Regions from separate parts of the Homo sapiens genome. Here region 1 is linked to region 2. Evidence: promoter capture Hi-C in 16 types of primary human blood cells and fetal thymus (Javierre and others, 2016). All regions are on one chromosome and are shown on one strand. The core of a region is centred on a gene start or on the middle of the fragment in contact, and the rest is flanking DNA. Distances in the headings are between cores, read along the strand shown.

Region 1 (5,462 bases), core at 2,096-4,595, 48 kb before region 2:
AAAAAGTTCGATTTACCATTTTTCGATTTTATGATGCTGCTAAAGCAACACAAGTTCAGTATACTCCTTGACTTATGATGGTGTAACATCTGGATAAACCCAATGTAAATCAAGGAGCATCTGTAGTTGGATTTAAGACTACCATCTTATTACTTGTTTTCTACTTTTCCCAACCCTCCAGTGTTTTTTCCTCTTTTCCCATTTTCTTTTGGATTGAGTCTTTTTCTTAGTGTTACATTTTATGTACTCCATTAGTTTACTAGCTATACCTCTGTTTTGTTATTAATGGCTACCTTAGGGTTTACAATATGCATCTTTAACCTATTACAGTCTATCTTCAAATAATATTAATCTACATATAAGAACGTGATAACAATATTCATTTTTTATCTTTATTGACATACATTTTACATTTCACATCCCACAATACATGACTACAATTTTGTATTGAACAGTAAACTACTTTTTAAAGAAAAACAATAAAGTCTTTAGCCATAAATTTACCATTTCTGGCACTCTTCATTCCTTTGTGTAATTCCAGTTTTAATCTAGTATTCTTTTCCATTTGTAGTTTAATCTGAAGATACCTTTATTTTGAAGGATATTTTTGCTGGGTATCTACACTGATATTTCTTTCATCACTTTAAAGATGTTTCATTACTGTCTGACTTGCACTATTACTAATGAGTAGTAGTAACTAATTGCTGATTACCCATGTCATGTGTACAGTTTTCTCCAGTTGCTAAGTTGTCTTTCATTGTTTTTCTTCCCCCACCCTTTATCATAAACTGGTACGCAATAGCTTCACTAAAGTTGCCTTGTTTTTTTTTTTTTTTTTTTTTTGAGACGGAGTCTCACTCTGTCGCCCAGGCTGGAGTGCAGTGGCGCGATCTCGGCTCACTGCAAGCTCTGCCTCCCGGGGTTCACGCCATTCTCCTGCCTCAGCCTCCAGAGTAGCTGGGACTACAGGCATGCACCACCACGTCTGGCTAATTTCTTTTTGTATTTTTAGTAGAGACGGGGTTTCACCGTGTTAGCCAGGATGGTCTCAATCTCTTGATCTCCTGAACCGCCCGCCTCGGCCTCCCAAAGTGCTGGGATTACAGGCATGAGCCACCGCGCCCGGCCACAGTTGCCTTGGTTTGACTTTGTTTTGGGGTCACTTGAACTTCCCATACTTGGGCTTATATAGTTTCTGGGAACTTAGTAAATTTTCAGCCATTTCTTAAGAAATTATTTTTCCCCCTGCACTCTCTCATCCCCTGGTATTACCATTACATCTATGAAAGACTGCTAGATATTGGCCCGGCGCGGTGGCTCACGCCTGTAATCCTAGCACTTTGGGAGGCCGAGGCGGGCGGATCACCTGAGGTCAGGAGTTCTTGAGACCAGCCTGACCAACATGGAGAAACCCCGCCTCTACTAAAAATGCAAAATTAGCCGGGCGTGGAGGCGCATGCCTGTAATCCCAGTTATTCGGGAGGCTGAGGCAGGAGAATCGCTTGAACCCAGGAGGCGGAGGTTGCGGTGAGCCGAGATCGCGCCATTGCACTCCAGCCTGGGCGACAAGAGCGAAAACTCCGTCTCAAAAAGAAAAAAAAGACTGCTAGATATTGTCTCACACACAGGTTACTGAGGCTTTGTTGAGGTGCTTTTTAGCCTTTTCCTCTCTCTGCTTCAGTTTGGATAAATTTTTTTTTTTTTTTTAAAGATAGGGTCATCTCCTGAGTAGGTGGGACTATAGGCATGAGCCACCACACCTACGTATTTCCTGAAGAAAAACAAAAGAAATAGGGTCTCATTATGTTAACCAGGCTGGTTTTGTATTCCTGGGCTTAAGTGATCCTCCTGCCTTGGCCTCCCAGGAGCTGGGAATACAGGCAAAAGCCACAACGCCTGGCCAAGACACAAACATTTCTATCACCTTGCAAGAATCTCTCATACTCAGTTAATAGCCACTCCTCCCTAAAGGTATGTAGTATTCTGACTTCTATCGCCATGGACTATTTTTGCTTTTCTACATTAGGAATTCTGAATGGAACAATGCCCTACTTTTTCCCAGGCTTGCTCCATTCAACATTGTCTGTTGGGTCCATCATGATGTGACATGTAGAGATGCTCAACTTATGATGGGGTATATGTGCCAATAAACTCATCATAAACGTAAGTTGGAAATGCATTTATAGCTCCTAAAAGCTTACATCCCCTTCCTCCAAAAGGAAGGAAAATGTATTCACTGTCACAAGACCAATGTGTCAATTTCTGGACAATAAAGTCATTAGTGGTCTATTGTCAGGACTGAATTTTCATACTTAGCTTTTATTTATTCCAAAATAAGCAAATTTTTAGTTATTTGACTATAAGGTCATTAGTTTCTCTCAATACAATGAACAATAGCAATATTTAAATTGCTAATAAACCTATATGGCTATTAGTTACTAGAATAGACAATATGTTTCAATTTTATTTTTATTATTTTTTAAGATGGGAGTTTCGCCTTTGTTGCCCAGGCTAGATTGTGCCCAGGCTGGAGTGCAATGGCAAGATCTCGGCTCACTAAAACCTCCACCTCTCGGGTCCAAGCGATTCTCCTGTCTCAGCCTCCTGGGTAGCTGGGATTACAGGCACATGCCACCATGCCCGCCTAATTTTTGTATTTTTAGTAGAGGTGGGGTTTCATCATATTGGTCAGGCTGGTCTCAAACTCCTGACCTCAGGTGCTCCGCGTCTCGGCCTCCCCAAGTGCTGGAATTACAGGCGTGAGCCAACGTGCCCAGCCCGTTATTATTTTTGGGACAGAGTTTTGCTCGTCACCCAGACTAGAGTGCAATGGCACGATCTCGGCTCACTGCAACCTCCACTTCCCAGGTTCAAGCGATTCTCCCGCCTCAGTCTCCTGAGTAGCTGGGGCTGCAGGGGTGCACCACTACCCCCAGCTAATTTTGTACTTTTAGTAGACAAGGTTTCGCCATGTTGGCCAGGCTGGTCTTGAAACTCCTGACCTCAGGTGACCCACCCATCTCGGCTTCCCAAAGTGCTGGGATTACAGGCATGAGCTACCACACCCAGCGTCAGATGCTTTTAAAAAAAACAACTTCCCCAAAGAGTGCCTCAAGTTCACAGAAAATTCTAAAACTGCACCCAAGCACCGTCAACTACACATTGTTATTCACCACAGAGAAAGTATCAAATGTCTGTTGCATTAAGTGGCAAAATTTGGTAACTAATAAATTTCAATCCATTTAAAAACACTGTAAATATAGTATAAATGTTGTCGATTCAACTAATGATTCCATAATTAGGAGAACTTAACAAAACACATGGAGACCCCTTGCACTCAAACCCTATGTCTGCTCCTCTACTTTCTCCCCAAATCTTTGGTGGAAAGGATATGTGAATCCCGAAAAGCTCTCAGTGACCATCAATTCAAGGTGACAGGCTGACCACATGCTTACAGCCTATTTCTACTGAGACTTGAATACTGATAAGGGAATAAAAAAGGGTTTAACACAATGACAAAGAGGTAGAGTGAGATAGCAAAAGATACTTCAAAAAGCTGCCTGGAAGATAAAAAAAAAACAAACAAAAACAAATTAGGCCAGGGGTGGTGGCTCACGCCTGTAATCCCAGCACTTTGGGAGGATCACTTGAGGTCAGGAGTTCAAGACCAGCCTGCCCAACATGGCGAAACCCCGTCTCTACTAAAAATACAAAAATTAGCTGGGCATGGCGGCGCACCTGTAGTACCAGCTACTCGGGAAGCTGAGACAGGAGAATCACTTGAACCCTGGAGGCAGAGGTTGCAGTGAGCCAAGATGGCGCCACTGCACTCCAGCCTGGGCGACAGAGCAAGACTCTGTCAAAAAAAAAAAAAAAAAAAAAAGATTAAGAAACAGAAAAATTAGCAAAATTAAATAAGGCTTAAATTTATTATTACTGTTGTTGTTTTGAAATGGAGTCTCACTCTGTCACCCAGGCTGGAGTGTTACCTCTGCCTCCCAGGTTCGGGTCATTCTTCTGCCTCAGCCTACCGAGTAGCTGGGATTGCAGGCACCCACCACCACACCTGGCTAATTTTTGTATTTTTAGTAGAGACTAAAAATTGTCTTGCCATGTTGGCCAGGCTGCTCTTGAACTCCTGACCTCAGGTGATCTGCCTGCCTCGGCCTCCCAAAGTTCTAGAATTGTAGGTGTGAGCCACCATACCTGGCCAGAAGATTTAAATAGCCACAGAGAAAGATTAAGTGAGACCTTGTCTCAAAGAAAACAAAAACAAAAACAAGAAAAACTAGGAGTGAGCTACTTTACCCAAAAGAACGCTTCAGAGGTTTGAAACTCAGAAGGCACCACCAAAGTTGTGAAAGGAGCAGGGCTGAACACAGAACTGGTTTAAAGCATGTAAACAGAGAATTGTTTGTTTTAGGTTCCCTCTGCCATATTATATGCAACCAGAGCCATCACTTCTCAGCTGTGTGCAAACATGAAGAAGCTTCCTAACACCTCTAACCATCAGTTTCCTCATTTGTAATGATATTACGAAAATGCCTACTCCATAGGATTATCGTGAGGATTGAGTGAATCAATACATATTAAGCACATAGAAAAGTACCTAGCACATGGTAAGCATGCAATAAAACTTGTTGTTTTAAGCCTTTGATGCGATTTGCCTTATAATTAATTATGGTGTCTATACTACCTTGAGAAACACTAATTTAAGTCAAATCACCTCTGGGGACACATGAATGAGGAAGACATAATGGCACTTTCATCTTGTGAGCACAGCTCCATGACGTATCACAGTGACACGGGCTTAGTCTCAAAGCAAGACTAACAATCATAAGGGTCATAGGTAAATACTAAAGACAGTAAAAGTGGTGGGAAAAAGGAACTAGGTGTGGGAGAGGTGCCTTGGAGCGCTTAATGTCATTCTGTGAGTACAGTAGCTACACATTGCTTACCTTTGAATAAACGAGAACCCGATTACAATAAGAAGTAAAACATATGAACAGACTGAAATAAAACACAATAATCCATAAATATCACATAAGAAATGTTATCCAGAAATCACAGTTTGTGCTATCTGAAAACCATTTATTGCAACGACAAAACTAGAGGTTAATTACTTTTTATTATTGAATTATATTGTAAAGTCTACATCTACAATTTAATCAGGAAGAAATGCTTTGCATTTACATCAAGGACACATTTATTCTAATGGAATAAAACAGACACACACAAAAGACCAAGTACATGTTTTTAAAAAATGACTACATGTTTCACCTGGTCCTATTTTTGCTATTTGGACCATACTTTTAAGTGAATTGATCTTACATACATGTTAAGTCTGATTTATCTCCCCACATTTTTAAACACTAAATGAAGCTTCTCACAATTTCTAATTATAAACAAAAGGCTGAAAACAGTATGGGAAACAAAGTTTCAAAACAAAGAAAAGTTGAGTA
Region 2 (5,903 bases), core at 2,868-5,367:
ATGGAGTAGCCATTCTTTATTCCTTTACCTAATAAACTTGCTTTCATTTTATGGACTCGCCTTGAATTCTTTCTTGTGTGAGGTTCAAGAACCCTCTCTTGTGGTCTGGATTGGGACCCCAGTAACACCGAGATTTTTCTTTCACAGGACTTAAGTAACTAAAATACTCTCAGAAAAGAAAGCAAGGCTATTAAACAGGTGAAATAAATGCTCAGAGCATTCTATAGTAGTGGATAAGTCCTCTTGCAAGAATACATGAATAGACATTTCTTAGTGAAATAGAACAAATCCACAGAGCTGTCTTTTCTAGACAGGTCCATGTTTCAGTTCAAATCCTGACACTTCATAGCTCTTGATAGCTCTTTGTTTCCACCTTTCCTATAAAACTCTTTCCGTATATCATCCCTATATCATGAGTATAGAAGATTAAGTTAAAAAGTGTTGGATTTGCAGTCATTTCAAAGTTATAGAAAGTCATCAGATGGAGCATTCTAAAAAACTACAGATGTCCAGCCTTGGGAAAGAATCTGGGACCTGGGAAGTGACAGTTTTAGAGCCATAACAGTATTAATAATGACATGTATAACAGCTTCAAAAACATTTTGATGTATTTTATCTTATTTGATCCTTTTAACCTGTGGGGTAAGTAGGACGTCTAGTCTTGCCTTGCTTTATAGGCCGGAGGTCCTCAAACTTTAGCTTGCATCAAAACGGCTGGAAGGTTTGTTGCTGTGCCCCACACCCAATTTTCTGAGACTGTAGGTCTGAGGTGAGGCCTGAAAATTTGCATTTCTAACTTATTCCCAGGATGGTGGTCCAGGAACAGTTCTTGGCCATTTTTTAGTCTTTGTGAAGCTGGCTGGATTGTCTTAGTCATGAATTATAGTTCTGCATTGCCCTCAGAATAAAATCTAAATTAGTTGGAATGGCACACTGATCCTGTATGCTGACGCCTATTTACCTCTCCAGCCATTCTGCAGAACTAGTAGTTCTTGACGGAAGCTGTATTCGTTTGCCAGGGCTACCATAATAAAAGTAAACAGATATTTATTTTCTCAGAGATCTTGAGGCTAGAAGTCTAAGATCAAGAGGCCAGCAGGGTTGGCTTCTTCCTAGACCTTGGCTTGTAGATGGCTACTCTCTTGCTGTATCCTCACATGGCCTTTCCCCTGTGTGCACACATCCTTGGTGTCTGTGTGTCCAAATTTCCTCTTATAAATATGACACCAGTCAGACTGGATTAGGGCCCACCCTAATGGCCTCATTTTTACTTAATAATGTCTTTTTTTTTTTTTTTTTAAAAGAGAGTCTTGCTCTGTCACCTAGGCTAGAGTGCAGTGGTGCGATCTCGGCTCACTGCAACCTCTGCCTCCCGGGTTCAAGCAATTCTCCTGCCTCAGCCTCCCGAGTAGCTGGAATTATAGGCACCCGCCACCGCGCCCAGCTAATTTTTCTATTTCCAGTAGAGACAGGGTTTCACCATGTTGGCAAGGCTGGTCTCCAACTCCTGATCTTGTGATCCACCTGCCTTGGCCTCCCAAAGTGCTGGGATTACAGGCGTGAGCCACTGCACCTAGCGTACTTAATCAGGTCTTACGATCATTCTGAGGTACTAGGAGTGAGGGCTTCAACATATGAATGTTGGGGAGATGAAATTCAGCCCATAAACTGGGTGTGGTGGCTCACGCCTGTAATCCCAGCACTTTGGGAGGCTGACGCAGGTGGATCATGAGGTCAGGAGTTCAAGACCAGCCTGGCCAACATGGTGAAACCTTGTCTCTACTAAAGATAACAAACAAACAAACAAAAAAATAGCTGGGTGTAGTGGGGTGCACTTGTAATCCCAGCTACTTGGGAGGCTGAATCGTTTGAACCTGGGAGGCGGAGGTTGCCACTGCATTCCAGCTTGGGCGACAGGGTGAGACTCCATCTCAAAAAAAAAAAAAAAAAAAAAATTCAGCCCATAACAGAAGCCATTTCTTCCCTCTGGCATCATTTGCATATACTGCATATATCGTAGCTTGGACCAATCATGTTAACTCATTTGGACAAAACCATATTTTTGTGATGTAGATGGAGAGGTTGTATCACCTTGTTATAGCCTCATACAACCCAATGTGGAGTTACTGTCCACTGTTTTAGCACCCCCATACCACTCTGTTCATGTTACTTTCATGGTTCTTACCAAGTAACATGAACTTACCCCAACACATTATGGCGTTTGGTGGCTTAACATATCTGTCTCCTGATGCTCAAAAAAACCCATTTTTACTCAGTGTATCCTCATCCTTAGTACTTAGCACAGTATCAGGCTCATCAGAGTTGACAGTCCATAAATACCCGTTGAAATGGATGATCTAATTTTAATCCAAACAGGAGAGGGAAGAACAAACCACACCATGTGCAAATATAATTTCCAGGTATACTGCTACATTAGGTTGAATCAAAAGAAATTAGTGTTTGGTATTTTCAAAATACTAAGCAGAAAACCTCAGGAATTTTACAAAACATATCATCAAAATCTAAAACTATTAATTTCTCATAGTCTTGCTATTCATTTTCTGTTCAACAAATATTTGACACTTACGTGTAGGGCACTATTTAGTACTAAGAGTCCTGGAGCTTGCAAATGTGAACGAGCAAGCTTTGCTTCCTGCTATTAAAGAGATTAATAGTCAAAAGTGGTGACTAGTCATCACTCGCATAATCGGTGAAAACATAAAAGGCGCCCAGTCCAACAGCTTTTCCCACATTCCTCCCCGCCACCCACCTCCAGAAGGAGTCTTGCTTGGTCACCCAGGCTCACTGCAACCTCCGCCTCCCGGGTTCAATCAATTCTTCTGCCTCAGCCTCCGGAGTAGCTGGGATTACAGGTGCACCCCACCATGCCCAGCTAATTTTTGTATTTTCAGTAGAAATGGGGTTTCACCATGTTGGTCAGGCTGGTCTTGAACTCCTGACCTCGTGATCCACCCACTTTGGCCTTCCAAAGTGCTAGGATTACAGGTGTAAGCCACTGAGCCTGGCAGTCACACATTCTTTCAACTGTTTGTTTCCACCTTTATTATAAAGTATTTATAAAGAGGGATCCAGAGTCCCTCACCTGGTTCAGAATCTTGGGTGACCCTTGGCAGGTCACTAACCCTGTGAGCCACAGCCACATTTGTAAAAGTGGGATAATAGTCACACATTGTGAGGTTGTTCACAGTGTTGGCACATGGTAAGGGCTAAGACACTTGATTAGCATAATATTCAAAATTAGAAATTGTACACTATTGTACTCTCTTTCAAAAGGCAAACAGCCTAAAACTGTTTGGAAAAAACAGCTTGTACAGTATATTGTACACTTCCTGTGATAGACTAGTGGACTGATACACCCACTAATGCACAGCAGTAATAGTCCACCTCTTTACACATTATGCATGTTAAGTGACAAAAAAACTCACTTTAAAAGGCCAAATGATAAAAACATCAGCCTTGAGGCTCTTCGATATAGAGTAAATCATATCTTCCTGCAAACCAAGGATTAGTATCATAATACCTGAAAGAGGAAAACTTAATTCTAACATTCAAGAAAATTGGCGGCAGGAATACACCTCGGCTTCTAGTAGTCGGTAGTTTAAAATACAGGAGGAAAAAAAAAAAGTTTGACCCCGACGTGATTCGAACACGCAGCCTTCTGATCTGGAGTCAGACGCGCTACCGTTGCGCCACGAGGTCCTGCTGGGCTGTGGCTCGCGCAGTTTCTTAGGACACCAGTAAATGGCGTTTCTTCCAGGGGTACCAGTCTTTCTCTTCCATTTACTCTCTGCCCCTCCACCCAGTATCTGTCGGACCAGGAGACCGATTCCTTCAGCGTCCAAACTTTCCTGACTGCTAGTCCTCTAACCAAGGCTGGGACGTAACCAGCGGAAGCGGGAGAACGGGGCTTCCCGTTTAGTCGGGTCTCCAGGATCAAAGGAAATTGGCCCTTCCTTTTCTTTACCAAATGATTTCCGTTCTTACCCGCCCTGCCCCCGCCCCGTTAGTCGCGAGACTCCGCCCTCTCTCCCCTCCCCCAACAGGTTCCGCGCGCTGAGTTCGCGACCTCGAGTTGTAATCTGGCGGGGCGCCACTAAGCCGGCGCAGGCCTTCGCAAGATGGCGGCTGGAGGCAAGGGCAGAGGCCTTCAGAGCGTTTTCTTTTTCCCTTTCCTCCCTTCCTGCAAACAATGTAAGGCATTTTCTCTCAGGGGAGGCTTTCACTTCATGGTGGGCATTAAGGTTAAAAGTCACCATTTTGAAGACAGGGTTGTGCACTTAAGGGAGCTGGTTTAGCATATTATGTTTAACAGCAGTGTCCTGTCATTGAATGATACAGAAAATAATAACTGTCGCCAAAAAAGTGCAGCTACACACCTCCCCGTCGGGGAATTGAACCCCGGTCTCCCGCGTGACAGGCGGGGATACTAACCACTATACTAACGAGGAGTCGTTAGGCTGTGTATTTTCTCAGACAGCCCTTCAAGGAGCAGTAAGATCCTTCCAGCGCTCCGTAACCTTCCGCCTGCCCCCGGGAAGTACGAAAGTCCGGTCTCTTGGAGCCGCTGCTTAGGCTTATTGTCCTCTCTGGGCGCTTTGTATTCTTGATGTTGGTGGGAAGAATAAAAGGTGTGGAATATGTGAAGGAAACGCGCTTCCCATGTTAGTGCTAGAGAAGTGTGTGAAAATAGTTTTTCCGAGGCTCTTGACGCGTTCTAAATGATTTAGGTTGCCGTCCTGAGTTTTTTTTTTTTAACTGACCACTGGTATGTGACTTGCGGCTGAGCCTTCCCCTTACAAATTTATACTTTCACTCTGAAGTTCAAGTTCAAGGATAGCATATGGCTGCCAGATGTCGGGGACAGTTAGGGTTGCCACGGTCTCGTGCCTCTTCAAACAATTCATAAGTCTTTTTTTTTTGAGAGGAAGTCTCGCTCTGTCCCCTAGGCTGGAGTGCAGTGTTGCGATCTGGGCTCACTACAACCTCCACCTCCAAGGCTCAAGTGATTCTCCCGCCTCAGCCTCTCGAGTGGCTGGGATTACAGGCGCGCACCACCATGCCTGGCTAATTTTTGTATTTTACTAGAGACGCGGGGTGTGTGTGTGTGTGTGGGGGGGGGGAGGGTTCACCATGTTGGCCAGACTGGTCTCGAACTCGTGACCTTTAGTGATCCACCTGCCTCGGCCTCCCAAAGTGCTGGGATTTACAGGCGTGAGCCACCGCGCCCGGCCAATTCACACACTTTTGTAACACAAAAGCGCCCAATGAAATGACCAGCTGCGGGCAAATGAAATTTTATCAAAATTTTATCAGCCGACTTCTGTTTCGCTCTCTGTAGGTGGCTACAGTTTAACTGGAAGTGACAAACGTAAGTATGTGAATGGCTAAATAATAATGCGTTTAAATAATTCAAAACCAGGATGTGCCACTGATTAAACATATGGGTTAGGAAAGTGCACTAATCGGATAATTTGATAATTTGTGTCATCCTAAACCCGTTCATAGACAGGATGAACCCTCTTCCCAGGGATACTAAGAGAGCCTTATATGTAAACTTTTTTTTTTGAGACGGAGTTTCACTCTTGTTGCCCAGGCTGGAGTGCAGTGGTGCGATCTTGGCTCACTACCACCTCCGTCCCCCGGGTTCAAGCGATTCTCCTGTCTCAGCCTCCCGAGTAGCTGGGATTACAGGTGCCCACAAACACGCCCGTTCAATTTGTGTTTCTAGTAGAGATGGTAATTCACCACGTTGGTCAGGCTGGTCTCGAACTCCTGACCTAAGGTGATCCACCCACCTCGGCCTCCCAAAGTGCTGGGATTACAGGCGTGAGCCACCGCGCCTGGCTATAAACTTTTGATTTTCTCTAAAGGAGTGTGTTTAT

Evidence for each region. Contacts are between HindIII fragments. The CHiCAGO score rates a contact against its expected background, and 5 or more counts as called.
Region 1: a contact is called between a fragment that was not itself captured here and the fragment with the promoter of LINC02453 in region 2, in 10 of 17 cell types (non-activated CD4 T cells, fetal thymus, naive CD8 T cells and 7 more). The highest score is 9.5, in non-activated CD4 T cells.

The regions. Positions count from the first base shown.
Region 1 is chr12:98,549,960-98,555,421 of GRCh38, reverse strand. TMPO (thymopoietin) reads right to left here. Exons shown (of 9, transcript NM_001032283.3): 9 at 5,071-5,462. Among named protein-coding and RNA genes, the nearest start is that of TMPO-AS1, 36 kb to the right of the region's middle. The HindIII fragment of the contact is 2,293 bases long and covers 2,199-4,491 here.
Region 2 is chr12:98,502,069-98,507,971 of GRCh38, reverse strand. LINC02453 (long intergenic non-protein coding RNA 2453) reads left to right here and starts at 4,117. Exons shown (of 4, transcript NR_038383.1): 1 at 4,117-4,212; 2 at 5,360-5,389. TRD-GTC1-1 (tRNA-Asp (anticodon GTC) 1-1) reads right to left here and starts at 4,469; the gene lies at 4,398-4,469. TRW-CCA4-1 (tRNA-Trp (anticodon CCA) 4-1) reads right to left here and starts at 3,720; the gene lies at 3,649-3,720. RefSeq lists enhancers at 3,760-4,059, 4,070-4,379. The HindIII fragment of the contact is 12,452 bases long and covers 2,647-5,903 here.